Regions from separate parts of the Homo sapiens genome. Here all the other regions are linked to region 1. Evidence: promoter capture Hi-C in 16 types of primary human blood cells and fetal thymus (Javierre and others, 2016). All regions are on one chromosome and are shown on one strand. Each heading gives the region's core, a stretch centred on a gene start or on the middle of the fragment in contact. The rest is flanking DNA. Distances are from core to core; before and after follow the strand shown. Region 1 holds the start of PLXNC1 (plexin C1). Region 2 holds the start of NR2C1 (nuclear receptor subfamily 2 group C member 1). Region 3 overlaps NDUFA12 (NADH:ubiquinone oxidoreductase subunit A12). Region 4 overlaps MRPL42 (mitochondrial ribosomal protein L42). Region 5 has its middle 38 kb from the start of TMCC3. Region 6 has its middle 12 kb from the start of TMCC3.

What was found. Contacts are between HindIII fragments. The CHiCAGO score rates a contact against its expected background, and 5 or more counts as called.
Region 2: a contact is called between the fragment with the promoter of NR2C1 here and the fragment with the promoter of PLXNC1 in region 1, in 4 of 17 cell types (naive CD4 T cells, total CD4 T cells, total CD8 T cells and 1 more). The highest score is 9.3, in naive CD4 T cells.
Region 3: a contact is called between a fragment that was not itself captured here and the fragment with the promoter of PLXNC1 in region 1, in 1 of 17 cell types (naive CD4 T cells). The highest score is 7.4, in naive CD4 T cells.
Region 4: a fragment that was not itself captured here is called in contact with the fragment with the promoter of PLXNC1 in region 1 in 1 of 17 cell types (M2 macrophages); the score reaches 5.2 in M2 macrophages.
Region 5: a fragment that was not itself captured here is called in contact with the fragment with the promoter of PLXNC1 in region 1 in 1 of 17 cell types (neutrophils); the score reaches 5.5 in neutrophils.
Region 6: a contact is called between a fragment that was not itself captured here and the fragment with the promoter of PLXNC1 in region 1, in 1 of 17 cell types (neutrophils). The highest score is 5.2, in neutrophils.

The regions. Positions count from the first base shown.
Region 1 is chr12:94,145,297-94,150,135 of GRCh38, reverse strand. PLXNC1 (plexin C1) reads right to left here and starts at 1,559. Exons shown (of 31, transcript NM_005761.3): 1 at 103-1,559. The coding sequence starts at 1,164. RefSeq lists silencers at 1-72, 733-972, 1,103-1,332, 1,403-1,652, 1,663-1,792 and an enhancer at 433-532. The HindIII fragment of the contact is 5,941 bases long and covers 1-4,442 here.
Region 2 is chr12:95,071,739-95,076,577 of GRCh38, reverse strand. It overlaps NR2C1 (nuclear receptor subfamily 2 group C member 1), which reads left to right and starts at 2,960. Exons shown (of 14, transcript NM_003297.4): 1 at 2,960-3,198. RefSeq lists enhancers at 2,863-3,182, 2,873-3,373 and a silencer at 3,263-3,542. The HindIII fragment of the contact is 1,017 bases long and covers 2,517-3,533 here.
Region 3 is chr12:94,986,988-94,991,826 of GRCh38, reverse strand. All of the region lies in intron 3 of NDUFA12 (NADH:ubiquinone oxidoreductase subunit A12), which reads left to right. Among named protein-coding and RNA genes, the nearest start is that of NDUFA12, 14 kb to the left of the region's middle. RefSeq lists an enhancer at 1,955-2,466. The HindIII fragment of the contact is 397 bases long and covers 2,296-2,692 here.
Region 4 is chr12:93,490,803-93,495,641 of GRCh38, reverse strand. The region is part of intron 5 of MRPL42 (mitochondrial ribosomal protein L42); the gene reads right to left. Among named protein-coding and RNA genes, the nearest start is that of MRPL42, 26 kb to the right of the region's middle. The HindIII fragment of the contact is 3,980 bases long and covers 131-4,110 here.
Region 5 is chr12:94,685,803-94,690,641 of GRCh38, reverse strand. No RefSeq gene overlaps it. Among named protein-coding and RNA genes, the nearest start is that of TMCC3, 38 kb to the right of the region's middle. RefSeq lists an enhancer at 1,310-1,549. The HindIII fragment of the contact is 3,111 bases long and covers 321-3,431 here.
Region 6 is chr12:94,660,472-94,665,310 of GRCh38, reverse strand. No RefSeq gene overlaps it. Among named protein-coding and RNA genes, the nearest start is that of TMCC3, 12 kb to the right of the region's middle. The HindIII fragment of the contact is 6,489 bases long and covers 1-4,839 here.

The DNA of each region.
Region 1 (4,839 bases), core at 310-2,809:
GTACCCCCGCCCCGCCGCTCGCCCCCAGCTCGTTCTGCCTCGGCGGCGGCGGCGGCTCCCCGGCAGCAGCGCTCTCCGCGGCGCCCCGGGGGCAGGACTTACGCAGTGGCTCTCGGCCGTCTTGAAGTCCCAGCTGACCCTCTTGGCGCGCGCCTGGATCTCACTCATTCTGAAGAGGCAGAGCGCCGTGGTGGTGGGGGAGCGCCGCTCCTGGCCCTCTCCAGCGGCCGCGCTGAACACTCCCGCCCAGACGTCCAGGGCCTCCACTAGGCTGGAGGAGAGGAGCAGGCGGCGGCCGTCGGGGTGGCCGTGGCCGCAGTCGAGGGATGCCTGGCCCTGGAACAGCACCTCGGTGCTCTGCGCGATGCGCGCCATGCTGGGCCAGCCGGTGGCAGCGCCGCTCGTGTAGTTGTAGGGGTAGTAGGGGAAGTAGATGCTGCCGTTCCAGAGAAAGGCGTCCACGAAGTGCAGGCTGCCCGCGCCCTCGCACAGCTTGAGGCGCCCCAGCTCCTGCGTGGCCAGGCTGCGCCCCTCCGTGTCCTTGAGCGCGATGGCCGTGTCGTGGTCGGATGCCGCGGGGTTGCAGCGGCTCGCCGTCTCCGGCTCAGGCAGCACGTAGGTGGCGGCCACCGCCAGGTACCAGCGGTTGTTCCGGCCCGCGCGGTACACCACGCCGGCCGTCGAGCCCTGCGGGTGGCACGACACCACCTCGGTGCCGTTGCGCAGGGAGTTGCGGCTCAGGTTGCCCAGGGGCCGCACCTCGCAGGCGCCCCGGTCGAAGGTCCAGCCGGTGAGCAGCAGCCCCCCGAGGCCGGCCGCCCCCTCGCGGTAGGGCAGCAGCAGCTTGCTGAAGCTGCTCCCGGGCCGGGGCCGCGCGGGGGGCGCCAGCGAGACCGGCTCTGTGCAGTTGCCCGCTTGGTCCCGGTACAGGCGCGAGAGGCTGTGCTCCAGGCTGTAGTCCAGCTGGTCCAGGCAGCTGCCGCTCGCCACAAACACGCCGTCCTCCTGGCTCGCCGCGATGGCTCCGATGGCTTGCTCCGACCGCCACACGGGCTCGTCCGCGCCCCGGCCGGGAGCCGCCAGTGCCAGCAGATAGGCGAGCAGGGGCAGTGGCGCTGCGGGGCGCGGGGGGCGCGGCGGCGCCTTCCTCCGGGAGACCTCCATGGGGCTGGGGGGGCCGCCCCCGGGCAGGGCGCGCGGCGGCGACGGCGGCTCAGGCGCGCGGCAACGGAGACGCGGGCGGCGGCGGCGGCGGTTCCTGCGCGCGCTCGGGCTCCCGCGGCCGCCCCATCCCCGCAGCTCGCCCAGGAAGGAGAGCGGGGAGGGCGGCGCGCGGCAGGCTCGCTCCGGCAGCCTGTGCAGCGGCGGTGGCGGCAGCAAGCCCTGCGCGCTCCGGCACCGTTTCCTCCTCGCCCTCCTTCGCCGGAGAGTTCCTGTGTGCAGCGCTGGCGCTCGCGGGGAGGCGCGGAGGGGAAGGGAGGGGACGGGCGGAGAGGAGCGAGGCGGGCGGGGAGGGCTGGAGAGGTTGGGTGCGCTTGTGCGTTTCACTTTCCCATTGTGAAAGTGGGATGCAACTGGCCCCCTTCCTCATCCTCTCTTCCTCCTCCGCCCTCCGCCTCCTGCCCGCCCGCCCGCCCTCCCTCCACGCCCATCTCCCCTCCCCTCTTGATTCGGTGAGATAGGGAGGAGGGAGGTCTCGTAATTTGGGTTACTGTGTAGGTGGCCTCTTTCATCTATTCATAACAAAGCTCAGCCGCCCGCCGCGGCCGCCGCGGCCGCCACCATCGCCCCCTTGGCTCGCCTGGGGCTCCCGGGGCGCGCTAACGGCGCACGGAGCGGGCTCCCGCGCCCGTCCGCCCGCGGTGCTGCTCCAACGCCCGGTTTTGTTTACGACAGCAGCCGGGTCGGGGATACGCCAGGCGCGCGGAGCGAGGATCCAGGGTGCGAAGGGGTTGCAGCTGAGGCCCCGGGCTCGGGCCACAGGGCTGCTGCGAGAGCGGCTGACAGGTGTGGAGCGGCGAGAGGGAGGCCCCGGGGAGGCGCGCGGGAGACATGGCCGAGCCGGAGACTCCGGGGACCAAGGCGCCCCTGTGACAGGGTGTGGGTTTCCCCGGGTCGGATGAGTGAGGTGGCAGAAAGGCAGGCGCCACACTCTCGTTCTGGACAATCCCCAGGGCCGGAGCGCCCATATTTGCAAAGGTTCTCTAATCTCCCTTGGCAACAGAGTCCCAGGCTCTCAAGCCTAGCACTTGGAAAGTTCTGCTCACCATCTAACCTAATGAGCGGGGCTAACATTTACTGAGCACTTACTACGTGCCGGGTGCGCTTGTGAACTCACCACATGGGTTAAGACTCATAATTCTCATAACAGCCCTATTAATTAGTGACTGTTATTGTCATCCCTACTTAGTAGTCCAGGAGAATGGTTATAGAAAGGTTGTGGAACGTGCTGGCATTCTACTGCTGGTAGATATCAGAGCCGAGATTCGAATCCATATCTAGCCCCAGGGCCTCTTACATACCTGGCTCTAGTTAAGTGCCACCTGTGGCCATTGCCATAATCCCCCAGAGATCATTCTCTGTAGTGAGACTGAAAAGTTCCTCAAGTTAAATGCACCAACCAGCCCCCGCCCTGCTTTCTACTATTAGACCCAAGTCCCCGTATTTCCCTCGAGGCTCTCCATCTGTCTCATCATTACCCACTTTTATCCTTTGGACCCCCTGAGGTCTCACCACCTCACCCAGAGGGTGAATAACAGCTGGGTTGCCCCCACAGCCGCCAAGAATTTCTGAAGCACAGGGAATCATTGCCCACTGGGGAATAGGTTCATGATTTCTCGGAATGGGGCTTCCCAGAGGATGCACAAATGCCTCCCAGCTTCCCGGGGCAGCTGCGGGCACCATCAGCACCCTTACAGTCTGGCAGATGAGCCAGGGGGTGCATAGGAGTGGAGGGTGCTGAGGACCTCTATGGATCGTTGGGAAATGATCTCTGTTCCTTCCCAGGCTATTTCCAGACCCCAGGCCCCAGGGAGGGCAATTGGCTGCTATCCCCTTTCTTCCTTCCCTCCAAGTTCCCCAGCTCGAGATGCTGTTTTGGGAAGGGAAAGGAATGAGGTGGCTTTTGTCCCATGCTGAGTCCTGCCGAAGGTTGCAGGTTTCAAACTTCTCCAACAGTGCTTCAAGTTCTCCCCAGTGCTGAGGGATATGGCAGGAGTTCTGGAAGGCTTAAGGAAAGAAGGGTGAGGTGGAGGGAGAAGAAGAGAAGTGTGAGTTTCTGCTCTAGATGTGAAGTTCAAGGATCCTATCATTTCAGCAGTGGCTCTCATACACTAAAGTCAGAGTGGTCATCTTTTCATTCATAAGCCTTTCATTTGCAATTGGATAACATTATCTTTGCCTGGCAGGAGGCAGAAAATGCCTTCCCACGAGATATGAGGTTGCCCTTTGTGCTGTGATGATGGTGTTGGAGTGTCCATAAGGAGAGGGGAGGAAGAAGGGGAAAGGCCTAAAGTACCCAGTTGGTGTTAATCGGGACATCTCAGGCAAGACAAGTCAGATGTTTCACCTGCTCCAAAATATCTGGCCTTGCTCCCCCACTCCCTGCCCTCCTGGAATGCTTTCAGAATTTTTGCACCTCTGGAAGTGGGAAGATCAATATTTTAAAAACCTCATCCGAAGCTCAGAGACCCCCTCCACAGCATAGTAGGGGATTTATGCGCTGGTGTTTTGACAGTTTTCCCTGTGACTGATGCAGAACTCAGTGACCTTCACTGGCTCCGTGAACCAGCGGTGGCAGTGTCGCTATGTGCTGAGAAGCAACAGTTCAATTCCATTCCAGAGATAGTTTTACTTCACTGGTAACCAAGTCATTTCTCTAAGTCCCGTAGAGTTGGTACAATCAGTCACAGACCATCTTGGGAGCTATTTGGATTAAACATACTCTGTGGTGCGGCATTTTGATCACTACTCAGTTCATTGCTGCTTCATTTTGAAAAAGAAACAACATCTTAAAAATACTACCCACAAGAAGTATAAATGGCTTTGATGGCTACAGTTCCCTGCCATTCTACTGGGACCATAAGCCCCACTCTTAAGAGTGGGCTTCTTTTGCCTCCCATTTAATTGTATGCAGACTCCTACGGTGAAAGAAATCAGAATCTGTGCTAACTTTTTGGCATGAAAAACGTAGGCGACGAGGAAGCATATAAATGCATTCTTTGCTGATTCTACCCCCATTTTGTACAAACATGTTTGCCCCTTCCCAATTTTCTTGTGTACTAAAGCTCCACCTTCAGGACACAAGTTCACATTTGAAAAGTGTGGGAAATACGAACAACTGAAATAAATATTTAGGCATGCGGGTTCTGTATCTCTTTGATCACTTTCTCTTGGACACCACCGTCTGGCCCAGGGGTGCAAGTCCCTTTGGTGACAAAGCTTCCCTCTCCAACTGGCCGAGCCCATCTTGTTGGGTGTCACTTATAGCACATTTCGGAACTCCTTGTAACACAACTGGCTGAAACCCAAAAAAAAAAAAAAAAAAAAGAAGATGGTGCAGATTTATCCTCCAGACAGAGGCCTGCTACCACGGAAACAGGCAGTTCAGACCGATTCTGAGCAGTTTTATTTGCAGCGTTCACTAGATGGGAAAGTCTTCATAATGAGAAAATATCAAGTCCCTCAGGCACCGAAGGCAATCTGGGTTAACCAGGCCATCCACAATCAGACTCATTTCTGGTGGACAGGACTTTATAGATTCAGTGGTTTCCTGCTGGGGCCCAGGACATTAAGAACTGTTCAGTAGGCAATTGGTCACAGTCACAAGATGGCTATCAT
Region 2 (4,839 bases), core at 1,711-4,210, 930 kb before region 1:
GGCTAATTTTTTGTATTTTTAGTAGAGACGGGATTTCACCATGTTGGCCAGGCTGGTCTCAAACTCTGACCTCAGGTGATCCACCCGCCTCAACCTCCCCAAGTGCTAGGATTACAGGCGTGAGCTACTGAGCCTGGCCAGCATCATAGATTTAAAGATGAACTTCGGCTAGAGTCACACATTTAAAGATGAACTTCGGCTGGGCACGGTGGCTCATGCCTGTAATCCCAGCACTTTGGGGAGGCCAAGGCGAGCGGATCACTTGAGGTGAGGAGTTCGAGACCAGCCTGGCCAACATGGTGAAACCCTGTCTCTACTAAAAATACAAAAAGCTTAGCCAGACATTGTGGTGTGCGCCTGTAATCCCAGCTACTCGGGAGGCTGAGGCACAAGAACCTCTTGAACCCAGGTGGCGGAGGTTGCAGTGAGCTGAGATCAAGCCACTGCACTCCAGCCTGGGCAACAGAGTGAGACTCTGTCTCAAAAATAAATAAACTTCATTTACCTCTTTTCCTGAAGCATAATTAATGGAAACGCTTCTTCACCTACAAATGATGTTCCTAAAATGGCTTCTACTTCCAAGTTTTAACAAGTCAACTTATTGTGACTTAAGTGAATTAATTGGGTGATAAGGGGTAACCACAAGCATCACTATAGGCATACATATTCTCCACCAAGAATAGTGAAGAGGTCTCAGATTGCCTGTATCCATTAGGCCTATAGTGCAGTCATGCACTGCATAACAATATTTCAGTCAAGGACAGACCACATATACAATAATGGTTGCATAAGATTATAATCCCCTATTTTTACTGCACTTTTTTTTTAAAAGGACTTAGTTTACTTTTTCTATGTTTATATATATTTAGATACACAAATACCTACCATTATGTTACAACTGCCTACAGTATTCAGTAACATGCTGTACGGGTTTGTCCTAGGTTTGTGACTTAAGAGCAACAGACTACAACATACAGCCTAGGTGTGTCTAGGCTAGACCATCTAGGTTTGTATAAGTACGCTCTATGATGAGAGTAAAATGAAATTGCCTAAGGACTCATTTCTCAGAACATATCCCTGACGTGACTATACTTTCATAATTTTCACCTTTGGGACCAGCTTATGGTATTGGCAGGGGTCTCCCTTAAAACCAAACCAAATACACAACAAATAATGCTAAAAGGTAGAGGTTGGAAAAAAAAAAAAGTTTCACTCTCGCCCAGGCTGGAATGCAATGGTGCCAACACTGGACCAGACTCCTGGGCTTAAGCAATCCTCCCACCTCAGCCTCCTCAGTAACTAGGAATACAGGCCTGCACCACCATGCCTTTTTTTTTTCTTTTTTTTTTAAGAGATGGAGTCTCACTATGTTGCCCAGGCTGGTCTCAAACTCCTGGCATCAAGCAAGCCTCCTACCTCAGCCTCCCAAGGCTCTGGGGGCAGAAGCCACTGTGCTCAGCAGAGGTGGATTTTTAATGAGGGATAAAGCATATTTTTACTTGTTAGGGATTGTTTCATGCCTTGATCTCTGTCCGTCTGCCTAGTTCCAGAGAGAAATAACAGAGATGTTCTCATTCCCAGCAAACGTTTGTTTTTCCTTCCTTGGATTTCTGCCCTGAGTTTGTGGCTGCTTTCCTACAGTGCCGACCTAAGCTAGATAAAATAGAAATTTCATGACAAAACAAAGGAGATTTAAAAAAAAACTAGAAATTTCAAGAATGCTTCAAAATCTAAAGCGCAGAGTACTTTGCACACAGGGCAGTTATTCCTGCCACACCTTGCCACTACAGGTGGCCACTGTCAGAATGCGATGTTCCACCAATGTCTCTTCATTTCACAATTTGAAAAATTTTTTTTGTGGAGGCAGGGTTTTGTTATCTTGCCCAAGCCGGTCTCCAACTGCTGGCCCCAAGTGATCTTTCCTTGGCCTCCCAGCAGCCACTTGCCTGGCTTTCATTTCATACATCATTATTGAATAGCAGGCATTGTCCTATGTGCTTGGTAATACATCACTGAGCAAAACAGACAAAAAACGGCCATTGAGGATAATCCTCAATATATAATAATATATATATTATAGAGAGGATGTGGAATATACATATATATGTGTGTGTGTATATATAGAGAGAGAGAGAAAGACTCATTGTGTCACCCAGGCTGGAGTGCGGTGGTGTGATCTTGGCTCACTGCCGTCTTGACTCAGGTGATCCTCCCACCTCAGCCTCCAAGTAATTGGGACGACAGGCACGCGCCACCAGGACTGGCTAATTTTTTTGTAGAGACGGGTTTTCGCCATGTTGGCCAGGCTGGCCTCAAACAACCGGGCTCAAGTGATCCGTCCGCCTCGGCCTCCCAACTTGCTGGGATTACAGGCGTGAGCTACCGTGCCCAGTCTCTAGTGATTATATTCTTGCCCTGTTTAGCCATTATGTCTCTTTACTCACAACAGTTTATAAGTGAAACTTTGCCTTACCATTTGCATGAGTCGGCCTCAGCTTGTCATTATATATAAAGCTTACTAATGTAAATGACGAGTTAATGGGTGCAGCACACCAACATGGCACATGTATACATATGTAACGAACCTGCACGTTGTGTACATGTACTCTAGAACTTAAAGTGTAATACAAAAAAAAAAAAGTTTAAATATGATTGGACTCTACCCCAGAGCCCAGTTTTCCAGAAATTAGAAACAGATATGCCTAAGACCCAGAGGGTTATTTATTACTCAAATCTAAAACGTTGACTCAAAACCTCCCCTAATGCCCACCTTTGGCAAACGATGCTTAAACCTTTGCACGTGGCTTCAAAAATTACCTGGCTGGGAACGCGTAGCTCTGGCGGGGCACTCTGCCTCCAAGCCAAAAGGGGGCAGTGGACTCACAGAGCCGCTGCTCGGCCCTCCGATCCCTCCACCCCACCCTGGGAACGTCACGACCTCCTCTCGCCGCTTCTCCCCGTTGCTAATGCGCAGGCGCTGGCGGGATAGCGCGCCGCCGAGCCGAGAAAGAGGTCACGAACTCTGACCCCCCAGAAATACCCAAACACAGAAAGCTCTCTCCGCCGTGAATCTCGATCCCACATCCCGTCGGCTTTCTTCAACCTCTCTTCCCGGAGCGCCCCCCAATCCACGAGTGGCAGCCGCGGGACTGTCGCGTCGGCGCCCGACGCCGGAGTCAGCAGGGCGCAAAAGCGCCGGTAAGAAACGCTGGGTGGGGACACCAGCGACCGCGTCGGGGGCGGGGGCCAGGGGGTGCCCTTCACCCCAACCGCCAACGGACGCGGTCCCAGCGCATCCCCCGGCCGGCGTCCTGCGGCCAGCGGAGCCGTTCAGTTTGGGAGCGCCGCTTGGGGCTGCTCGACTTCGGCTGGGAGCGCGGAGCTGCGGCGCCAAATGCGCGGGGCCCCGGGAGAGGCGGGGGCGACAGGGGCGGCGGGACGCGGGGCCGGACGGCGAGCGGCTTGGAGCACACAACCCCCTTTCCAGCTGCGCTTACCGCAGCGCCTCTGACCTTTAACCTGCAGGGAAAGCTTCCGCGGCGCTGCAGCTTTCCCCGCCCGGGAGAGCCGCGCGCAGCGCCGGGGCTTCCAGGGCGCACGGCTAACGCCGGCACGAGTGAGACGTGGGAGAGGCCGACCCTCGGCTAGTGGCCGCAAGTCCCGGCCTGCATCCCGTCACTAACTCCCGTGCTTTCACGGGACGGACAGAATGACTCCCCCCACTTTCACTTTTCTCTCACGGCAAATCTGGCCAGGGTCGTCGCTGCCTGTGGGCCTGGATCTTTTCAGAAGAAATGGAACGGCCCCAGGGTTCTCACTGCAGGGGGCATGTCCAAGCTTCCGATAGATAGCTCTTTTGTTAAGAAATAATTCTTCCAACTCGGGCAGATACCATTTTTGTGCAGTACGAATGTTGCCAGGTTGTCCCATAATCTTCAGTAAGTAGGTCAGCCTTTAAAAAAGTAACCGGAAAGCAAAAGCAGAAAGACCTAAAATTACGGCCTTTAGGGTTTAGTACCGCTAGAATTTGTAAATGGACCTTCGATTTTGAGCTTTTTTGAACCATTTCTGCTGTGTGGTTGGTGATACTCGATTTTTTTTTCTTTTTTTTTTTTTTTTTTTGAGAGGGAGAGGGAGTCTCACTGTCGCCAAGCTGGAGTGCGGTGGCGCGATCTCGGCTCACTGCAACCTCCGCCTCCAGGTTCAAGCGATTCTCCTGTCTCAGCCTCCCGAGTAGCTGGGATTACAGACACGAGCCACCACACCCAGCTAGTTTTTTTGTTTTTGTTTTTGTTTTTGTTTTTTGTATTTTTAGTAGAGGTGGGGTTTCACTATGTTGGCCAGGATGGTCTTGATACTCTGACCTCGTGATGTACCCGCCTCTGATCCACCCGCCTCGGCCTCCCAAAGTACTGGGATTACAGGCGTGAGCCACCGCGCCCGGCCGATGATTGTTTTTAAACTTTGCTTTAAGTCCAGTTAGTATATCTGAAAAAGCGATGTGTATTTCTATCATTAAAAGTGGGTCGCGGCTGGGCGCGGTGGCTCACACCTGTAATCCCAGCACTTTGGGAGGCTGAGGTGGGCGGATCATCTGAAGTCGGGAGTTCGAGACCAGCCTGACCAACATGGAGAAACCCCGTTTCTACTAAAAATACAAAATTAGTCGGGCGTGGTGGCGCACACCTGTAATCCCAGCAACTCCGGAGGCCGAGGCAGGAGAATTGCTTGAACCCGGGAGGCGGAGGTTGCAGTGAGCTGAGATCGCGCCATTGCACTCCAGCCTGGGCAAGAAGAGCGAAACTCCGTCTCAAAAAAAAAAAAAAAAGTGGGTTTTAT
Region 3 (4,839 bases), core at 1,245-3,744, 840 kb before region 1:
GTGAGAATTCTGCGAAGGGTTTCTGGATGATTTTTCAAAGGTGGACATCTGTATTTATTTGTGAGACTTCTTGTTTTTTCTTGCTTTTTTTTTTTTTTTTGAGATAGCGTCTCACTCTGTCGCCCAGGCTGGAGTGCAGTGGCACCATCTTGGCTCACTGCAACTTCCGCCTCCCAGGTTCAAGCAATTCTCCCGCCTCAGCCTCTCAAGTAGCTGGGACTACAGGTGCCTGCCACCGTACCTGGCTAATTTTTGTACTTTTACTACAGACAGGTTTCACCATGTTGGCCAGGTTGGTCTTGAACTCCTGGCCCCGAGTGATCCACCCACTTTGGCCTCGCAAAGTGTAGGGATTACAGGCATGAGCCACTGCACCGGGTCAGTTCTTTTTTTTTTCAATTAATTTTTAAAAATATTTGACATTTTAAATACAGCATTATCTAGCAGAACTTTTCACAATGACGGAAGTGTTCTTTATCTGCCCTGTCCAATAGGGTAACCACTTGCCACGTGTGGCCCAGAACATTTTATTATTATTAATATTATTATTATTTTGAGACGGGGACACTCTGTTGCCCAGGCTGGAGAGCAATGGCACAATCAGTCTCGACTTCCTGGGCTCAAGTGATCCTCCTGCCTCAGCCCCCTGAGTAGCTGGGACTACAGGCATGTGGCACCATGCCCAGCTAATTTTTTTGTATTTTTAGTACAGATGAGGTTTCGCCATGTTGCCCAGGCTGGTCTCAAACTCCTGGACTCAAATGATTCGCCAACCTCTGCCTCCCAAAATACTGGGATTAGAGGCATGAGCCACCACACCTGGCCTTTCTAGAGCACTTTAAAATGTGGATAATGCAACTGAGGACATTTTAAAATTTTTATTTAAGATAAGTAGGCTACTCGATTGGACAGAATAGTTTGTTTGTTTTTCAAATACTGTGAGCTAAGCAAAACATATTTGTACTGTACATTTTTGCTGAGCTATAACCAGATTTCAACCCCTGTTCTACTACTTGGACTAATTGTGAGCACTGACTGTGTCAGTGATGTAATTTGAAGAATATGATAATGGATAATATCTTTAAAAGCTCACTGGGGCTTGGTGTGGTGGCTCATACCTGTAGTCCCAGCACTTTGGAAGGCTGAGGCATGAGGCTCGCTTGAGGCCAGAAGTTTGAGACCAGCCTGGGCAACATAACAAGGCCTCATCTCTATAAATAAAAAAAGTTTTAGAAAATTAGCCAGGCATGGTTGTACATGCCTGTAGTTCCAGCTACTTGGGAGGCTGAGGTGGGAGGATCCCTTCAGCCCAGGGGTTTGAGGTTGCAAGGAGGTATGATTGCACCACTGTACTCCAGCGTGGGTGACAGAGTGAAACCCTGTCTCTGAATAAAAAAAGCTCTTTGGTTCTTACCGTGAGAAAGCAGCACTGATTAGGAGCTTTCTCATGCTACATCATTTGGGGATTGCTGTTGCACTCTTTTTAGTGGGAAATAACAACCTGTGGTTCCGTTAAGGTCTGAGGAGCTGTGGGGTTTTTTTGTTTTTTTTTTTTCCACATTCTATGTCTCTTTATTTTTTTCCTTCAACTTTTATTCTAAGCTCCAGGGTACATGTGCAGGATGTGCAGGTTGACATAGGTAAACATGTGCCATGATGGTTTGCTGCACAGATCATCCTATCACCTAGGTATTAAGCCCAGCATGCATTGAGCTTTGGTTTTAGGTTTAGAACCATCAACCTTCTCCAAAGGGGCATTCTATATGTTAGGAGGACTATTTGAGACCAAGGTGTCAACATGGAATTCAGGCTTTAGGAGCTGAGGTGTCCTGGTTTTTGTTTAACTGAGAGATTGTTTCTTGGGTGGAATTGGTCCTGGGAGGCTATAGAAGGCATGTGAGCTGTCTTATTCAGATTGACATCTACCTGCTTCAAAATGTTCATCTAACATTGGTGCTCAGGGGCCACATTTTGGGAGATGAGGGGTAGGGGTGTGATTTCAATTATGTGCGATTAATTATGTTTAAAATTATAAAATAGTAAAAACCTGAAAAGCTAAAAGTTCTATTCAGTGGAGCAAGTCCTTTTATTTGATCTGAGACCACATGAAAATGAAGCTAAGAGCTGTAGAAGATCACTCCAGCAGGTGCCTAAGGGCAAGTGAGGATTCAAAGCTGCATTTCTTTGTGGAGAGGAGCCTCCTAAGGTCTGAGTACCTTTGATGACCCTTATTTGTATGGGAAGCTTCACGGCTTGTGATGAATCTTTTTAGGGAGAAATGGTGTTGAACAAGCTTAGCTGTTTGTTTCTCAAACCCCTCTTTGTTGACCGTGACACACTGTGGAATTCTAAATCTGTGGATTCTTACCTTTGATTCATGAATAAATTTGATGTTGGGTTGATATATCTCTAATTAGAGAGCTAGGTATTATCACGTGTAGAGAGTAATTGTACAGATACAATTTATCATCCCTATTCAAATAACTATTTAGTACCTACCAGGTGCCAAGAACCTGGGGTAAAGCAGTGAATAAAACAAGGTCCTTGTTTTCATAGGGGAAGGCAGAAAAACATCCTTTATATAATTGTGGTAATGAAAAATGCAAGGAAGATAATATGAAGCTGGGCCTCATGGGAATCAAGAGCAATGGAAGGGTCAGGTGGCTGTTTTATACAGCAGTTAGAGAAAGCTTCTTTGAGAAAGTGACATTTGAGGAAAGACGTAGAAGCGGGGAGAAAGCGTTCCAGGCAGAGGGAACCACAGGTGCAAAGCCTGTATGTTTGAGATGTATTGCTTGGTCTGTTCAAAGAACAGCAGTATGGCCAGTTTGGCTGGAATGGAATGAGTGAGGGGAAGATGTTAAGAAACGAGGTAGGAGAAATAGCTAGGGCCCAAATCATGTAGATGTTGTAAGATGAAAGGTTCTTGTATCGGCTCGAACCCTGAGAGTGCATCAGCAGACAACATGGCAGTGTGGAGCAACACACTGTTTTAATGAGCGCCTGGGTGCAGGTGGGCTGATGCCTAAAATGGCGTTAGCACCAAATGAGGATGGGGCAGGGGTTTTATAGTCTCCTGTAAACAGGAAGTGTCTCAGTCTGATGTAACTGCTACATAGTACCTGGACGGCCTGCCCCTCAATCTTCAAGGGGGTATGTGTCTTTCGGCCAGCTCTCTTCCTGCTTCTGCTGTCTTGCTGACCCACGCTGCTGGCCCAAGCTTGGGACTGGGCCTGAGAAGGGAGGAGTTATTCATCTCTTCAAGCTTTCAGGCCTCAGGGAGAATCTTTCAGTAAGCCATGGTACATACTTCGGCTTTTTGTCTGAATTTATTTGGAAGTCACTGGAAGGTAAGATAGGGTGTGATCTGATTTACAGTTTTTTAACATTTGGAATAATCCCGAACTTTCAGAATCATTACTAATATTTTAATAAAAGTAAGTTGCCAAATTGATGCCCCATCACTCCTGAATACTTTAGTGTGTACGTCTTGCAAACAAGAACATTGTCCTACATAACCACAATATGACCATAAATATCAGGAAAGTAACAAAGATACACTATGAAAGGGAGGCAAAATTTTACCCTTATCCTCTTAGGGCTTTTTGGTTGGGCTTGAGAATTAAAGACATGTTAACAGGAGAAAAGCATACAAATTTATTTAATATAAGAGTTCCGTGATGTGGAGCCCTCATAAGGGATGAAGACCCAAAGATGCAGTTCATGTTGAACACTTAGATACTGAATTGGACAAGGAGTAGAACACTGAAAATGAGAAGACAAAGGGACTTGGGCTTGAGTAGGTTAATTGGGTGGAGAAGTGACTAAGAAGATAAAAGTTAATTTAACAACGTTTGTGCAGATTTCCCTTGACCTCAATTTCCTGTCCTTGATGTAGAATGATAGTTTCCTTCTGGTATAGGGAGGATATCTTTGATGTGGGAATTTTTTCTCCTGCTTTCAGAAAGAAAAAGGCCATATTATTCTTGTGCCTGCTGTTTTTCTTTACCTTTTTTTTTTTTTTTTTTTTTTTTTGAGACAATGTCCTGCCCTGTCACCCAGGCTGGAGTGCAGTGGTACAGTCTGCAGCCTCGACCTCCTGGGCTCAAATGATCCTCCTATCTCAGCCTCCCAAGTAGGTGGGATTACAGGCATGTGCCACTACACCTGGCGAATTTTTGTATTTTAAGTAGAGACGGGGTTTCATCATGTTGGCCAGGCTGGTCTTGAACTCCTGGCCTCAAGTGATCTGCCTACCTTGGCCTCCCAAAGTGCTGAGATTACAGGCATGAGCCACCACACCCAGCCGTGCCTGCTGTTGTTCAAGTGCCTTTAACTCAGCATAGTCCATATGCCAGAGCTGCATATTTTGGAGCAGCGTGTTCTGAACTTCAGCCACTCAGGTTTCGTCAGTTGTCCCAACAGTGTCCTTTATAGAGAGATCCAATCACACATTTCATATGGATCTCAAGTTCTTTAGTCTCCTTCACACTTGATTGGTTCCTCAACTTTTCTGTGATTTTCATGACCTTGACGCTTTTGAAAATTACTTGACAGTTATATTGTTGAAGGTCCCTCAGTGAGTTTGTTGAATGTTTCCTCATGACTAGGTTCAGGCTATGCTTCTGTGACATTCCTGTCACTGAAGCCATGTTTTTCTTGTTGCACTCTATTAAGTAGCAGCTGATTTGTTTTTGTCCTATTATTAATGAAAACCTCTATCACGTGATTAAGGGGTCTGCCGGTTTTCTCCATTCTAAAGTTACTAATTTTCCCTTTGAAATTAATTAGCATTTTGTGGGGAGACACTTTGAGGTTATGTAAGTATCCCCTTACTCA
Region 4 (4,839 bases), core at 871-3,370, 660 kb after region 1:
TGTAAGTTGTATGACTCTAAAGAATCAATGCTGAATAGGCCAGTGGCTAATAAGTATCGTTGATTAGATTATCTCATGTCTGAAAATCTGAAGTGTTTACTATTAAATGTGTGGGCCAGGATTACAAGCTTGTAATCCCAGCACTTTGGGAGGCCAAGGTGGACAGATTGCTTGAGCCCAGCAGTTGGAGACCAGCATGGGCAACATGGCAAACCCTATCTCTCCAAAAAATACAAACAACAACAAAAAAATCAGCCAGGTATGGTAGTATGCTTCTGTAGTCCCAGCTACTTAGGAGGCTGAGTCTTTAGTCTTCCTTAGTTGACATGAAAAAAAATCAAGTCATAAAGTATTCCTTCTAATATAATCTTCCTAGAACACATCATTTGAGCAATATTATTATTGTAGGACTTTTTTCTTAGGTCAGCTAAAGACACACAACCACAAAAAATTAGGCTCACAGACAATTTGAAGGGTGAGGAAGGACAGGGTTTATTGGGTGAAAAGGAAAAAACTCAGCAAAGCAAGAGAGGTTCCTGTTAACAGGCCCACATCTCACAGATTGAATCCCCAGGTTACCACACCAGATCACAGAGGCCAGGCTCCTTTTCCCTGCAAACAGCGTGAACTTCACGAAGCTCCACCCCATTTTCCCAGTGCACAAGCTGGTCGGAGTTTCTCTGGGGACCCCTGTATCACTATATCTCTAGAGTTCCTGATGGTGTGTCTGTTACTTTTCTCATTAATTCGACCTTAGTAACGGTTGAAATTCTTTTTACATATCTAAAGTTAATATACTATCTTGATTTATCTTGGTGCTTCCCTTTCATCTCCCTTGTCTCTAGATTTTGGAGTGCCCCAAGAATCAGTCCTTGGACTGCTCCACTTTTCTGTTCCATTCTCTAGGACAGGAATCTCGTCCAGTCCCATGGCATTAAATACCATCTGTGTGATGATGACTTCCAAATCCATCTGTGGTCAAGACCTGTCCCTTGACCTCTAGACTTACATATCCAACTGCCTACTTGACATGTGTAGTAGGTATCCTTAACTTGGTATGTGTCTAACTGTGCTTCTGATGGTCCTCCACAAACCAGCTTCTCCTGCAGCCTGCTCTCTCAGTTAATGCCAGTTCTATTCTTCTAGGTGCTTGGGCCAAAAACCTTGGTACCACTCTTGACTCCTCTCTCTGTCTCATACCCAACATCTGGTCTATTAGCGAATCTTGTTAGCTCTATCTCCAAAATGTATCTAGATTTGACCATTTGTCACCATTCCCTCTGCCGCTATCCTAGTCCAAATCATCATTCTTGCCTGTTTTGTTGAAATAACTTCCTAACTGGTCTCCCAGCTGCTTCCTTTGCTTTGCTGCAGTCTGTTTGTAGCGTAGCAGCCAGAGTAACCTACTGTTAACACTTCCCTTGGTTCTTGTAATTTTTCTGTTGAAAATCCTCAAACAGCTTCCTATCTCACTCAGAAACACTCTAGGCCTACAACTACCTACATGATTTGGTCCTGCATTACCTCTCTGCTCTCATGCCCTACTGTCTTTTCCTTGTTCATGTATTCTGGCTACATGGCCTCTTTTTTGCTTTTGAACATGTCCTTCCTTCCATCTCAGGGCTTTTATACTTGCTGTTTGTCTGCATAGAACACTCTTTCTCACAGTATCAGTAAAGCTAGCTCTCTTACTTCCTTCAGGTTTTTACTCAATGAAGGCTTCCCTGACCAGCTTATTCATCTTATTTTCCTATCTCCTGTATTGGAATGTAAGATCCATGAAAGTCGGGATTTTTATCTTGTTTTGTGTACTACAGAATCATTAGGATCTACACATAGTAGGTGCTCACACATTTTAAAATGGATAAATGATTCTGATTCTCATAATAACTTTTTTTTTTTTTTTTTTTTTTTTTGAGACAGGGTCTTGCCCTGTCACCCAAACTGGAATGCAGTGACCTGATCTCGGCTCACTACAACCTTCGCCTCCCAGGTTCAAGAGATTCTCCTGCCTCAGCCTCCTGAGTAGCTGGGACTACAGATGCATACCACCATGCCTGGCTACTTTTTAAATTTTTTGTAGAGATGTGGTTTCACCATGTTGCCCAGGCTGGTCTCGAACTCCTGGGCTCAACTGATCTGCCCACCTTGGCCTACCAGAGTGCTGGAATTACAGGGATGAGCCACTGTGCCCAGCCCCCACGATTTTTAAAAATTAGCTGGGCATGGTGGTGCATGCCTGTAGTCCTACCTACTCAGAAGACTGAGATGGGAGGATCACTTGAGCCCAGGAGCTTGAGGGTGCAGTGAGCTATGATTGTGTCATTACACTCCATCCTGGGTGTTAGAGCAAGACCGTGACTCTAAGAAAGAAAGGAGGAGAGAAAAAGAGAGGGGGTCGGGGGAGGGAGGCAGGCAGGCAGGCAGGCAGGAGAAAATAATTCTAAATTTCTGAAATATAGGGCAATCTTACAAATGCATGAATAATAGTACCACTTTATTTAAGAAACTACTTTAATATTTTCCCATGGAGACAACAAAAATTAGCTACTTCCATCAGTAGGAAACAGATTTGATTACCTAGCTTAGTATGAACCAGGAGGTAAAGTTTTCTGGGTTAAGAGCTGTAGACCAGTGTTCCAGATGTCACTGAGTCATTGTGTAATCTAAGAAGTGTAACAATATAACTTGGTTTGCCAGGAGCAATCTCAATTTAACTCTTGTATTAATTAATAGTGTCTGCAAGGTTCCCAATCTGGATGATAGAATAAGGTCATCGTAAAATTAAGGTGCTTGCTTTTGGCTAGTGATTGTAGTGCACATTAAAATTCATGCATGATAAGATATGTGTAAATGCTATTTGACATTTATTGAGCATATTTTAGAACTTGACTTTGTTCAGTTTAGGGCTATCAGAGTCTCAAACATTTTCAGTCTTGAGTAGTAAATATAATTGAACAGTGTATGCTGAATGACACTTTTAATGGACAGTTCTTAGCATTCTGAAGGTCTCATACTTCATTGAGAGTCTGATAAAAGTTTTGAATCCACTGCCCAGAAAAACACCTATTCAAAATTTTTACAAATAATTTCAAGAGGTTAATGACTTCCCAAACCCCTTCTAGAACCAGAATCTGTAAGGAACTTAAATCAACAAGCAAAAATAAGTAATTCCATTAAAAAGTGGGCTAGGGAACATGAACAGACACTTCTCAAAAGAAGACATACAAGCAGCCAACAAACATATGAAAAAATGCTCAACATCACTAATCATCAGAGAAATGCAAATTTAAAAAAATCACAGTGTGATACCAGCTGATACTAGTTAGAATGGCTATTATTAAAAATAGATAAAAATAATAAATGTTGGCAAGGCTGCAAAGAAAAGCAAATGCTTACATACTATTGGTGGGAATGTAAATTAGTTCAGCCACTGTGGAAAGCAATTTGGAGATTTCTCAAAGAACTAAAAACAGAACTCCCATTCGACCCACCAATCCCATTACTAGGTAAATACCCAAAGGAATAGAAACTGTTCCACCAAAAAGACACATGTAATTGTATGTTCACTGTAGCACTACTCACAACAGCAAAGACATGGAATCAATCCAGGTGCCTGTCAATGGTGAACTGGATAAAGAAAATGTGGTACACATACACCATGGAATACTATACAGACATAAAAAAAGAACAAAATCATGTCCTTTGCAGCAGCACAGATGCAGCTGGAAGCCATTATCCTAAGCGAATTAACACAGAAACAGAAAACCAAATACCACACGTTCTCACGTGTAAGTGGGAGCCAAACACTGGGTACACACGGACACAAAGATGGAAACAAAAAACACTGGGGACAACAGACAGGAGGGAAAGAGGTGAGAGAAAGCTGAAGAACTACCTATTGGGCACTACCTCACTGCCTGGGTGATGGGTTCAATCATACTCCAAACCTCAGCATCACACAATATACCCTTGTGTACCCTCTGAAGCTAAAAATTGAAATAAAACAACAAAAAAAAAATCCTTATCTTAGGGTCTCCTAGGAAACCACATCTAAGACAGCATCTATTAAAATACATACATACATATATACATAGTGAAAGGCAAGCTTAGATAAAAAAATTTACAAAGCATATAGCTCATATAGCACTTTGGTCTCTAAGTTTTATACCTTAATAAGACAACCAATTTGCTTTTTAAAAAATAGGCAAAATATTTCTACAGATACTTAACTGAAAACAAACAAAAACCAAAACCCAAACATATGAATGGCCAATAAGCACATGAAAAGATGTTCAACATCTAGGTAGGTTAACCTCTACCTCTATGAATAGTCCTACCTCATATTATACCCAATTCCCTATGGAGAACACAGAAATAGAGAACACTTCTATTTTATATTTTAAATACTTCTGCATAGTTTAAAAATACTTTTTAAAAATGTGTGTTTTGGCCAGGCATGGTGGCTCACACCTGTAATCCCAGCACTTTGGGAGCCCAAGGCAGTGGGATCACTTGAAGTCTGGAGTTTGAGACCAGCCTGGCCAACATGGTGAAACCCCGTCTCTACTAAAAATACAAAAAACAGCCAGGCATGGTGATGTGCACCTGTAGTCCCAGTTACTTGGGAGGCTGAGGCACTAGAATCGCTTGAATCCGGGAGGCGGAGGTTGCAGTGAGCCGAGATGGCACCACTGCACTCCAGCCTGGGCGACACAGCAAGACTCTGTCTCAGAAAAATAAAAAATAAAAATAAAAATAAAATGTGTTTTATACCTTTTAATAAAAACTTATTTAAGAAGAAGTTATATACCCCCAGTTATTAAATTCATAATGAGT
Region 5 (4,839 bases), core at 627-3,126, 540 kb before region 1:
ACTGATTATTGCACAAAATCTTGGCAGAAGGATTTGAAAAATGTCCCATGAACAAATACCAAGTCATCTGAGGCTTGTCCACATGATTTACCAGCATTTTTTCACACGACAAAGATGTGAAGGAAAACTGGGGAAATGTGTCAGCCACTATTGGCATGAACCAGAGATATTTACAGGGGAGGGTGAGGGACTATAGTCCAGAGTCTCCTCAGATTCTTAAAACAGCAAGGATTATGCAAAGATAAAAAGCAAAAGTAAACACTAAAACTGTGAATGAAGCAAGAACACAAAGAGGGGAAATCCTTCTATGGAAACAAGCTTTCCTTCAGAGGAGAAAAACAAGACTCTGCTAAAAAAAATCTGTCAGCCTGGAGTAATAGATGGAGGCTGGTGTCTGCACCGTGCCTCCCTAGTCCACGTTTCTCTGCTAAAACACGATGTTTTTAAATGGAAATGAACGTTTGGCAGCTCGAGGATTGACGTAGCTGACGCCGGCTCCATTGTGGAGTGGGAACACAAACAACAAACGTGAAGATGGTTTTGGGAGTGGGTGAGGCAGAGGGCAAGGGGATGCAGGAAAGTGATAAAAAAGCAAGTGAATTCTATGAAGTCTGGTGTGAGGGCAGAAGCAGCTTGATTTGGGAACTGATTCCTCTTGTGTTACCCATCCGTTCATCAAACTAGTATTTCTTGAGCATCTGCTATGTGTCTTACGTGGTGCGGGGCTGTGGGGATGCAGTGGAGGCTGTAGCGGGGGAAGGAACTAACATCCCTTGAGGCCCCACCGTTTGCCAGACAGTGCTCCAGGCTTGCATTGAAATCCTCTGCAACCCTGAGAACTGCGTCCCAGCGCTCCGAGGTGGTGGAAGCTGGACTTAGAGCGAGGTCTTTCTGACTCTAGAGCTCACTGCCTCCTTATTGTTTTGAAATCTTAATCCTGTGGTGATTTGCTTTTATGTTTACTTTTAACCAAGGCTAAAACATTTATTCCTGGTGTGGAATGCCGCTTCTCCTTTCATCTTTGGAATCTGCTTTGGGCCACAGTGTCTTTCTGATCCAGAGAACCATATTCTCAGGCGATAGGACTGATTCTCCCTTCTCTTTCTAGCTCCTATTTTTTTTCCCCTAAGCCTCTGTATGAGTTTCACGTTCAAGCTCTGAATCATCCTTTCTGTTGCCAAATACTCATGCTGAAACCCCCTGCAAGATCTTCTCTGCTCTCTCTCCAAGATAGACACAAATGCTTCCTCTCTCCATACCAAACTTAGTAGAAACCAAAATGAAAGCGAGGAAAGAGACTCAGTGCATTGCTGAAGGCACTCCAGGTCCTTCGCTTTTCTCGTTCTACAGTCAGATTTTATTTGAAAGACAAAAAGACATGTACACAGTAGACCATGGTAAGACGAGGTCCATGGGTTTGATTCAGAGAACTCTAAGCAGAGGCTGCAGAAGAATCATAAATGAGCATGACTGTGCAAACTTTAAGATGACCTACATTATGTCTGTGTCTTTTATTGAGCACCTCCTATGTACCAGGCACTGCAGTGCTAGCTAGAGAATATGTTTGGCAGCAAACACAACAGACAAAAATTTTTTTTTGCTGTCATGGGGCTTATATTCAAATGGGGGGAACAGTCAATAAACCTAACAAGTAAGGTTGGTATGGTAGGTTAGAAAGCGTGAAGTGCTAAGAAGAAAAATAAAGCAGGGAAGAGAGATGGGTAATATGAGGGAGTGTGGTGGTTATTTTGTGTAGGGAGGCCAAAGAAAGCCTCTCTGAAAAGATGGCATTTGAGTGAAGATGTGAAGTGAGGGAATGAACATTCAGATACTCAGAGAGCCTTTCAGGAAACAGCAGATACGAAGGCCTTGAGCAAGGAGGAGGCCCGGTGTGTGTTCTAGGAACAGGGAACACAGGTGGTGGAGTAGTAAGTAGATGGGCTCTGACTATATAGGGTCTTGTAGGATTTTGACTTTTCTCTAAGTGAGACGAGAGCCATTAGGGGGTTTCAAACAGGAATGACCAGATTTGACTTAGTTTTGACAGAGGTTAACGGGGTCAAGAGAGGGATATTTAAGGGTAGGGGAATACCAGCGTGTTTGTATGCTATTGGAAGTGATGCATGGAGAGAGAAATATGACAATGCAGGAAAGAGGGCAGAATTGCTGGTGCAGGGCTCCTAAGTAGGGAAGGGGGCTCGGACTGCGAAAGATGAGGAAAGGGGTTGGCCTCAGGGTCACAGACAGTTCATCCATGGCAGCAGGAGGGAGGCAGAGTATATATGGGCACAGGAGCAGGTGGGAATAGATGTGGTAGAGGGAATGTGTGGAAATTCTCTCCTGATTGCTTCAATTACTTTTCAGAGAAGTAGAAAACAAGATCATGAGCCAAGAGTGAAGATGGAGGAGGAGGAGAGGTGTCGGAAGTTTGAGGAAAGAGGAGTATGAATTAACCATCTAGCAGCGCGGCAGAGTAAATCGACCAGGGAATGTGGTAGGATTGCCAATTGGCAGTCCTAGTTTCTGGTCGTGAATTTAAAATGCCTGTAATCCCAGCAACTGGGAGGCTAGAGGAGGAGGATCGTTTGAGCCCAGGAGTTTGAAACCAGCCTGGGCAACATACCAAGACTCTGACTCTAAAAAAAGTTTTAAAAACAAATCATGATGGGATTGATCTTGTTGGTTTTGAAGGCTGAGAATGTATGTGTGTTGGAAGGGAGTGGGGAAGGGAAGGATAGTGTTGTGGTGATGAGTTGGGGGTGGCAGTTCTTGCCAGGATCTCTTAGAACTTTGTCACTTCCCAGTTACAAGTATATACAAGGAATACTTAGAAGAAAAGTAACACAAAAAAGGCACCAAAGTTCTCAGAGTAGTTCTATCAAGACGGTGGGATTAGGGACAGTGTTTCATCTCCTTTTCACTGTTTTCCCTTGAACTCCATCCAAGATCCTCACCAATGAACTCAGTTTAAAAATTCTACCGCCTCTTGCTTGTAATTTATTTATTTATTTTGTATTTAGAGACGTAATCTTGCTATGTTGCCCAGGTTGGCCTGCAGTACTCTTTTACAAGGTTCAAATTACTTTGTCTAGGATTTACTAAGGAAAAAACACACGTTAAAAACAACGATGACCACAAATAATATCCCTGCTGACGATGTTTCCCTGGGTGTTCTTAATGTGTTTTCACAGGATATCCCAGATAAAGCAAATGCCTTTCTGTCCTTGAATATGGTTAAGTACAATGCATCCTGCCACAGACTGTATTATATTTTTTTGGCCAGATCCAACCTCTCAGGTTCTTCCAGGAAATGTGTTTCTAAAAATTTCCAAAGCCGGTATAGAGAGTCCTTATGTGCCCAGATACACAGATTTGTAATTAGCAATAGCTAAAGGGTTGTTTTTCATGTTTTTGAGAAGTTATCTGAAGCTTCAAGGGCTATTAGAAGTCAAATTATTCTATATTTCCAGTTTGGTTATCAAATCTCTTTATTTTTATTAGACAAAGAGTGCAGTTACTCTCCTAACCATCATCCTTCCTTATCCCCAGCAGCACTACATGGTAATTAAACCTCCTGGTCCTACAAACTAAGACTATTTCGTAAATGTTTGTGGAAACTTGCCAATTTATTATTTACCTAACCCAGTAAATACCATAGAATATTTTTGAAATTTCCTATTACATCCTGCTTTAGGGCAAGTATATTGATTTTTCTCTAGGTTGTAAGTAGAACACTATTTTATCTAAAGAGACAGATGCAATGAATTTAACATAAATATAGGGAATATCATAATCACAGTGTATTTCTTGAATGAGTCAAAACAGAATTGAATGAATGTTTGATTAGTACTACAAAGACCCTCTTAATCTCCAGGCATTTCAAGAGACTGACCTGAGTCTTGAGTATGAAATCCTGCAGAAAAAGTAAGAACTACTTGAAACTAACAACATAGAAAACTGAACTGAATTCTTGAATGTGTCTAAAAGTGAGTACCTCTGTGAGCTCTGGCAATTTACTTAACCTCACTGGCCTTCAGTTTTATTGGCGGTTTAGTTACCCTCACTGGCCCTCAGTTTTGTCATCTGAAATATTAGATAAGTTGATGAAAACTATAGAGGTTTTTTGTTCTGTTTTGTTTGTTTGTTTGAGGCAGAGTTTTGCTCTTGTTGCCCAGGCTGGAGTGCAATGGCGCGATCTCAGCTCACCGCAACCTCTGCCTCCCAGGTTCAAGCGATTCTCCTGCTTCAGCCTCCCGAGTAGCTGGGATTACAGGCATGCGACACCACCCCCGGCTAATTTGTATTTTTAGTAGACACGGGGTTTCACCATGTTGGTCAGGCTGGTCTAGAACGCCCTACCTTGTGATCCACCTGCCTTGGCCTCCCAAAGTGCTGGGATTAATGCTGTGAGCCACTGTGCCTGGTCGAGTTATTGAGAGTATAAAGGGACTGTAGGGATTTTCTAATGTCTCTTTAAAGAAAGCAGGAGTGCTAACTCTTATTTTATTTCCTTTTCCATTATACTCTGCTGAACTTTCATTACTTCCAAATCAAAAAGTTGATAATTCTAACTTTAAAATTAGTTGTGGTGGCTCATGGCTGTAATCCCAGCACTTTGGAAGGCCAAGGCAGGTGGATCACGAGGTCAGGAGTTCAAGGCCAGCCTGGCCAATATGGTGAAACCCTGTTTCTACTAAAAATACAAAAATTAGCCAGGCATGGTGGTGTGCGCCTGTAATCCCAACTACTCGGGAGGCTGAGGCAGGAAAACCACTTGAACCTGGGAGGCAGAGGTTGCAGTGAGCCAAGATCGCGCCATTGCACTCCAGCCTGGGCGAC
Region 6 (4,839 bases), core at 1,602-4,101, 510 kb before region 1:
TTTGCATGGGGCATTTTGTTAGGCTCTGTAGCAGTCAGTATTAGGTTTGATACACATAACAGAAAAACCCTACTTTGCAAAATGAGTTAAGATAACAGGCTCCCTGTTAGCATTTTCACATGGAACATTTGATTTTTGGCAACAAATGACTGACCTTAATTGTGAAATAACTGTACAACAATTTCTTTATCCATTCTGTTGTGGAATGACAATTGGGTTGTTTCTAGATAGGGACTGTTACCACTGTGAATGTTCTTGTACGTGTGTCCTGGTTGATGTGTGGCCTCCGGGATAGATATATACTGAGGAATGGAGTGGCTGGGCATGAGGGTTCCTGCTACTCCAGATCATTACCAGCACTAAGTATCATAATACTTTTCTATTTTTGTCAGTCTTGTAGAGTTATACTGATTTTTTATTATAATTTTTTTTTTTTTTTTTGAGACAGAGTCTCGCTCTGTCACCCAGGCTAGAGTGCAGTGGTGCAATCTCCTCTCACTGCAAGCTCCGCCTCCCAGGTTCACGCCATTCTCCTGCCTCAGCCTCCCAAGTAGCTGGGACTACAGGTGCCTGCCACCATGCCCGACTAATTTTTTTGTATTTTTAGTAGAGATGGGGTTTCACCATGTTAGCTGGGATGGTCTCGATCTCCTGAGCTTGTGATCCGCCCACCGCAGTCTCCCAAAGTGCTGGGATTACAGGCGTGAGCCACCATGCCCGGCCTGTTATAATTTTTATAATATCATTACAGAAACATTTCTTCATATGATTACATATTCTTCCTAAGTATAATTGTCAATAGCTGCACTGCATTTTTTATGAATATATCATAATTTATATAATCAGTCCATGATTTTTCATAATAAATAATCCTTTGAATTGTTTTAATTTTTTCAGAATGACAAAATGTGTGATGTTTGTGTGTAAAAGTTTTTCTGTATTTTCCTGTATTATTTCTTTTCTTTTTTTTGAGACAGAGTCTTGCCCTGTTTGCCAGGCTGGACAGCAGTGGCACAATCTCGGCTCACTGCAACCTCCGCCCCTCCAGGTATTAAGCAATTCTCTGCCTCAGCCTCCAGAGTAGCTGGGTTATAGGTGCGTGCCACCAGGCCTGGCTAATTTTCTGTATTTTTAGTAGAGACGGGGTTATACCATCTTGGCCAGGCTGGTCTTGAACTCCTGACCTCGTGATCCACCTGCCTCGGCCTCCCAAAGTGCTGGGATTACAGGCGTGAGCCACCACACCCAGCCTATTATTTCTTTAGCATAGCTTCCTAGAAGTAGAATATTTTGGTCAAAGTGTACCAGCAAAAAGACTCTGTGTATTCTACATGGGAGCTACGGCCTTGGGAATGAAAGGAGCTGGAGGTTAGTGTAAAAGGAGGAAGTGTGCCCTTGTCACTTGTGCAAGTTTGCAGACTCTGCAGTGGTAGGAACAGCACAAGCAGAGGCAGAGAGGGAGGGATGGCCGGGGTCCAGAGCTTGTCCACAGGCTCCTACTTTCATCCTAATCCTATTCACAAAATTTGTGATGATGACATACGGCATCAAAATGCATCCTCCACCTTACTAGGACACTTTCCAGGATAACAGCATACATCCTTACTGAAGTCTTACTGGTAAGGAGAAAGAGATACCACGTGAAGACAGACTTTAGGTTTTGTTTTGTTTGTGCAGACATTTATCGAGCTCTTATTTATAAGTGCTTTACATATATTACATCATTTAATCCTCAACAACAGTATGAGGTGGGTACTATTGTTATCCTTAGCTTATGAATGTGAGAACCAAGGCTTTAGAGCTCGTAAGGAGCAGCGCCAAGATGTGAATCCAAGCAGTCTGCCTCCAGTACACCATACCGCCTCCCTGTAACAGCACAAGATCATTTACAATTGAATGTTTATGTGAGTGATTTAAGCAACAGATACTGTCAGAATTCAGAGAAGGGAGAGAGATAACAGTGTGGACTGGAGTGGACAAGGAAGGCTTCAGCAAGCAGCATCCTCTTTTGAAAGGACTGTGACTTGGACTGTTTAAAAACAACATCACATCAGATTTTTCTGGCAGTTTCATTTCCCACTTTCCTTATCCTGCAAAGTGAGTTGATAAAATGCAAAGTGAATTCACGGACGATATGTTCCTGGAGTGTAGCTAGCTCATCCTTCAGATTCAGTATGTGCTTAATGAAAGACAATTCTCCTGGGCTAGCCGTGCATAGAATGGAGTCAGCTAGAGATCCCCAGAGAACTGCTTTCTCTGTGGTTGTGTGAAGTAGGAACCCAAGCATCACAAGTCCAGTTACAGGTTTAACTGAATGGAACATTTCGTGCCTAGTAAAAAGTAAGGCATTTTTATCTATGTTTGTTTTCTAACCCTGTTGTAGACTTCTGGAAAACTGCAGTAGCAAATAGCCAGTAGTCATACACGATAATCAGAGAGTGAAACTCTTTCCAAGTGGTAGAGTCAAGAGGTTAGAAATAGCAAACCACTTATATTATAATCTGTGTGTGCATGATATAAAGTAAAGACTCAAACCAATATAGGAATCATAAAACATGGAGCAAAGCAAAGCACATGAATTTGCAAAATTTCCTTTTCTTTTTTTTTTTTTTGAGATAGAGTCTCGCTCTGTCGCCCAGGCTGGAGTGCAGTGGCATGATCTCGGCCCACTGCAACCTCTGCCTCCAGGGTTCAAGCAATTCTCATGCCTGAGCTACCCAAATAGCTGGGATTACAGGTGTGCATCACTACACTCAGCTAATTTTTATATTTTTTGTAGATACAGGGTTTTGCCATGTTGGCCAGGCTGGTCTCAAACTCCTGGCCCCATGTAATCCACATGCCACAGCCCTCCAAAGTGCTGGGACTACAGGTGTGTGCCACCATGCCTGGCTAATTTTTGTGTTTTTGTAGAGACAGGGTTTCACCATGTTGGCTGGGCTGATCTCAAACTCCTGACCTCAAGTGATCCGCCCGCCTCCACCTCTCAAAGGAATTTGCAAAATTCTCTACTCAAACTTGCTATGTAACCTTTTACTAAACAACTCATATAATGAATTGTTTTGAACCTGAACCAAATCTATGAACGTTAATATGTTCTTCCAACCAAATCAGGACTTAATTATCCATTATTTATTCCATAAAAACCTTGTAGAATCACTGCTTTGTGCCAGGTGCTTTGCTCCACACTGATGGGCCAAGGATAATGGACATTGCCGTTGGCCCTGAACTTGTGTGGTTGAGACACAGCATGCACTGTGGCCAGGTACTGACATGTGTGGTCATATTAATGAGCACCACCTACAGTCTTTGTTTGCCCTCAGTTTCCACAGCTGGTCAACTCCTCTGGTGCAGCAAAGGGCCATAACCTGGTAGAATATTCTGTGAACAACTTCTTCAGAGAAAAAGTTCACTCCTGCTTGTGTTGTTCCCCTCCTCCCAAAACCCAGTTTTTTCTGTGAAAATGACTACAGTTGCATCTAAATTTAATTTAATTTTTTTTTTTGATGCAGAGTCTCTGTCACCTAGACTGGTGTGCAGTGGCACGATCTCAGCTCACTGCTACCTCCACCTCGTGGGTTCAAGCAGGTCTCCTTCCTCAGACTCCTGAGTAGCTGGGATTACAGGCACCCACCACCACGCCTGGCTAGTTTTTGTCTTTTTAGTAGAGACAAAGTTTTGCCATGTTGGCCAGGCTGTTCTCGAACTCCTGGCCTCAACTGATCTGCCCATCTTGGCTTCCCAAAGTGGTGGGATTACAGGCGTGCGCCACCATGCCTGGCCTTAAAACACATTTTTAAGTAAACTTTTAATTTTGAGATTGTTGTAGATTCACATGCACTTGTAAGGAATACTTCTGAGGAACTCTGTACACTTTACCTGTCCCCCAGTGGTAGTATCTGTGTCTCCCATGGTAGTATCTTGTCAAACTTCAGTACAAATATCACATTAACATTGGTGCAATCCATCAATCTCATTCAGATTTCCCCAGTACTTGTTTGCGTGTGTGCATGTGTGTATTTAGTCCTGTGCAATTCTATCCACCACCACTCTCAAGATACAGAACAGTTCCATCCCCACAGGATCCTTGGTGCTGCCTTTTTATAAACACACCCACCTCCCTCCTGCAACTACCCCCTCCCGTTCCTAGAGCCTGGTACCCACTCATCTCTTCTCCTTTTCTATAGTTTTATCATTTCAAGAATGCTATGTAAGTGGGGCCGGGTGCGGTGGCTCATGCCTGTAATCCCAGCACTTTGGGAGGCCGAGGTGGGCAGATCACTTGAGGTCAGGAGTTTGAGACTAGCCTGGCCAACATGGTGAAACCCTGTCTCTACTAAAAATACAACAATTAGCTGGGTGTGATGGCAGGCACCTGCAATCCCAGCTATTTGGGAAGCTGAGGCAGGAGAATTGGGAGGCGGAGGTTGCAGTGAGCTGAGATTGTGCCACTGCACCCCAGCCTGGGAGAAAGAGCGAGACTTCATCTCAAAAAAAAAAAGGATGCATATCAAATAGTTTGTTCCTTTTTATTGTTGAGTCATATTCCATGGTATGGATGTACCACAGTTGTTTAACCATTCACATGTTGAAGGACATGGTGCTGCTACCAGGTTTTGGCAATTACGAATAAAGCTGCTATGAATATTTGTGTATAGGTTTCTGTTTGAACATGTTTTCTTTCTGGGATAAATGCCTGAGAGTGCAGTTGCTGGGTCAGATGGGAGATTTGCATGTTTTAGTTTTATAAAAAACTGTCAAACTGCTTTCCAGAGAGGCTGAACCATTTTACATTCCTACCAGCAATGTATGATTTATGTAGTTTCTCCACATCCTTGC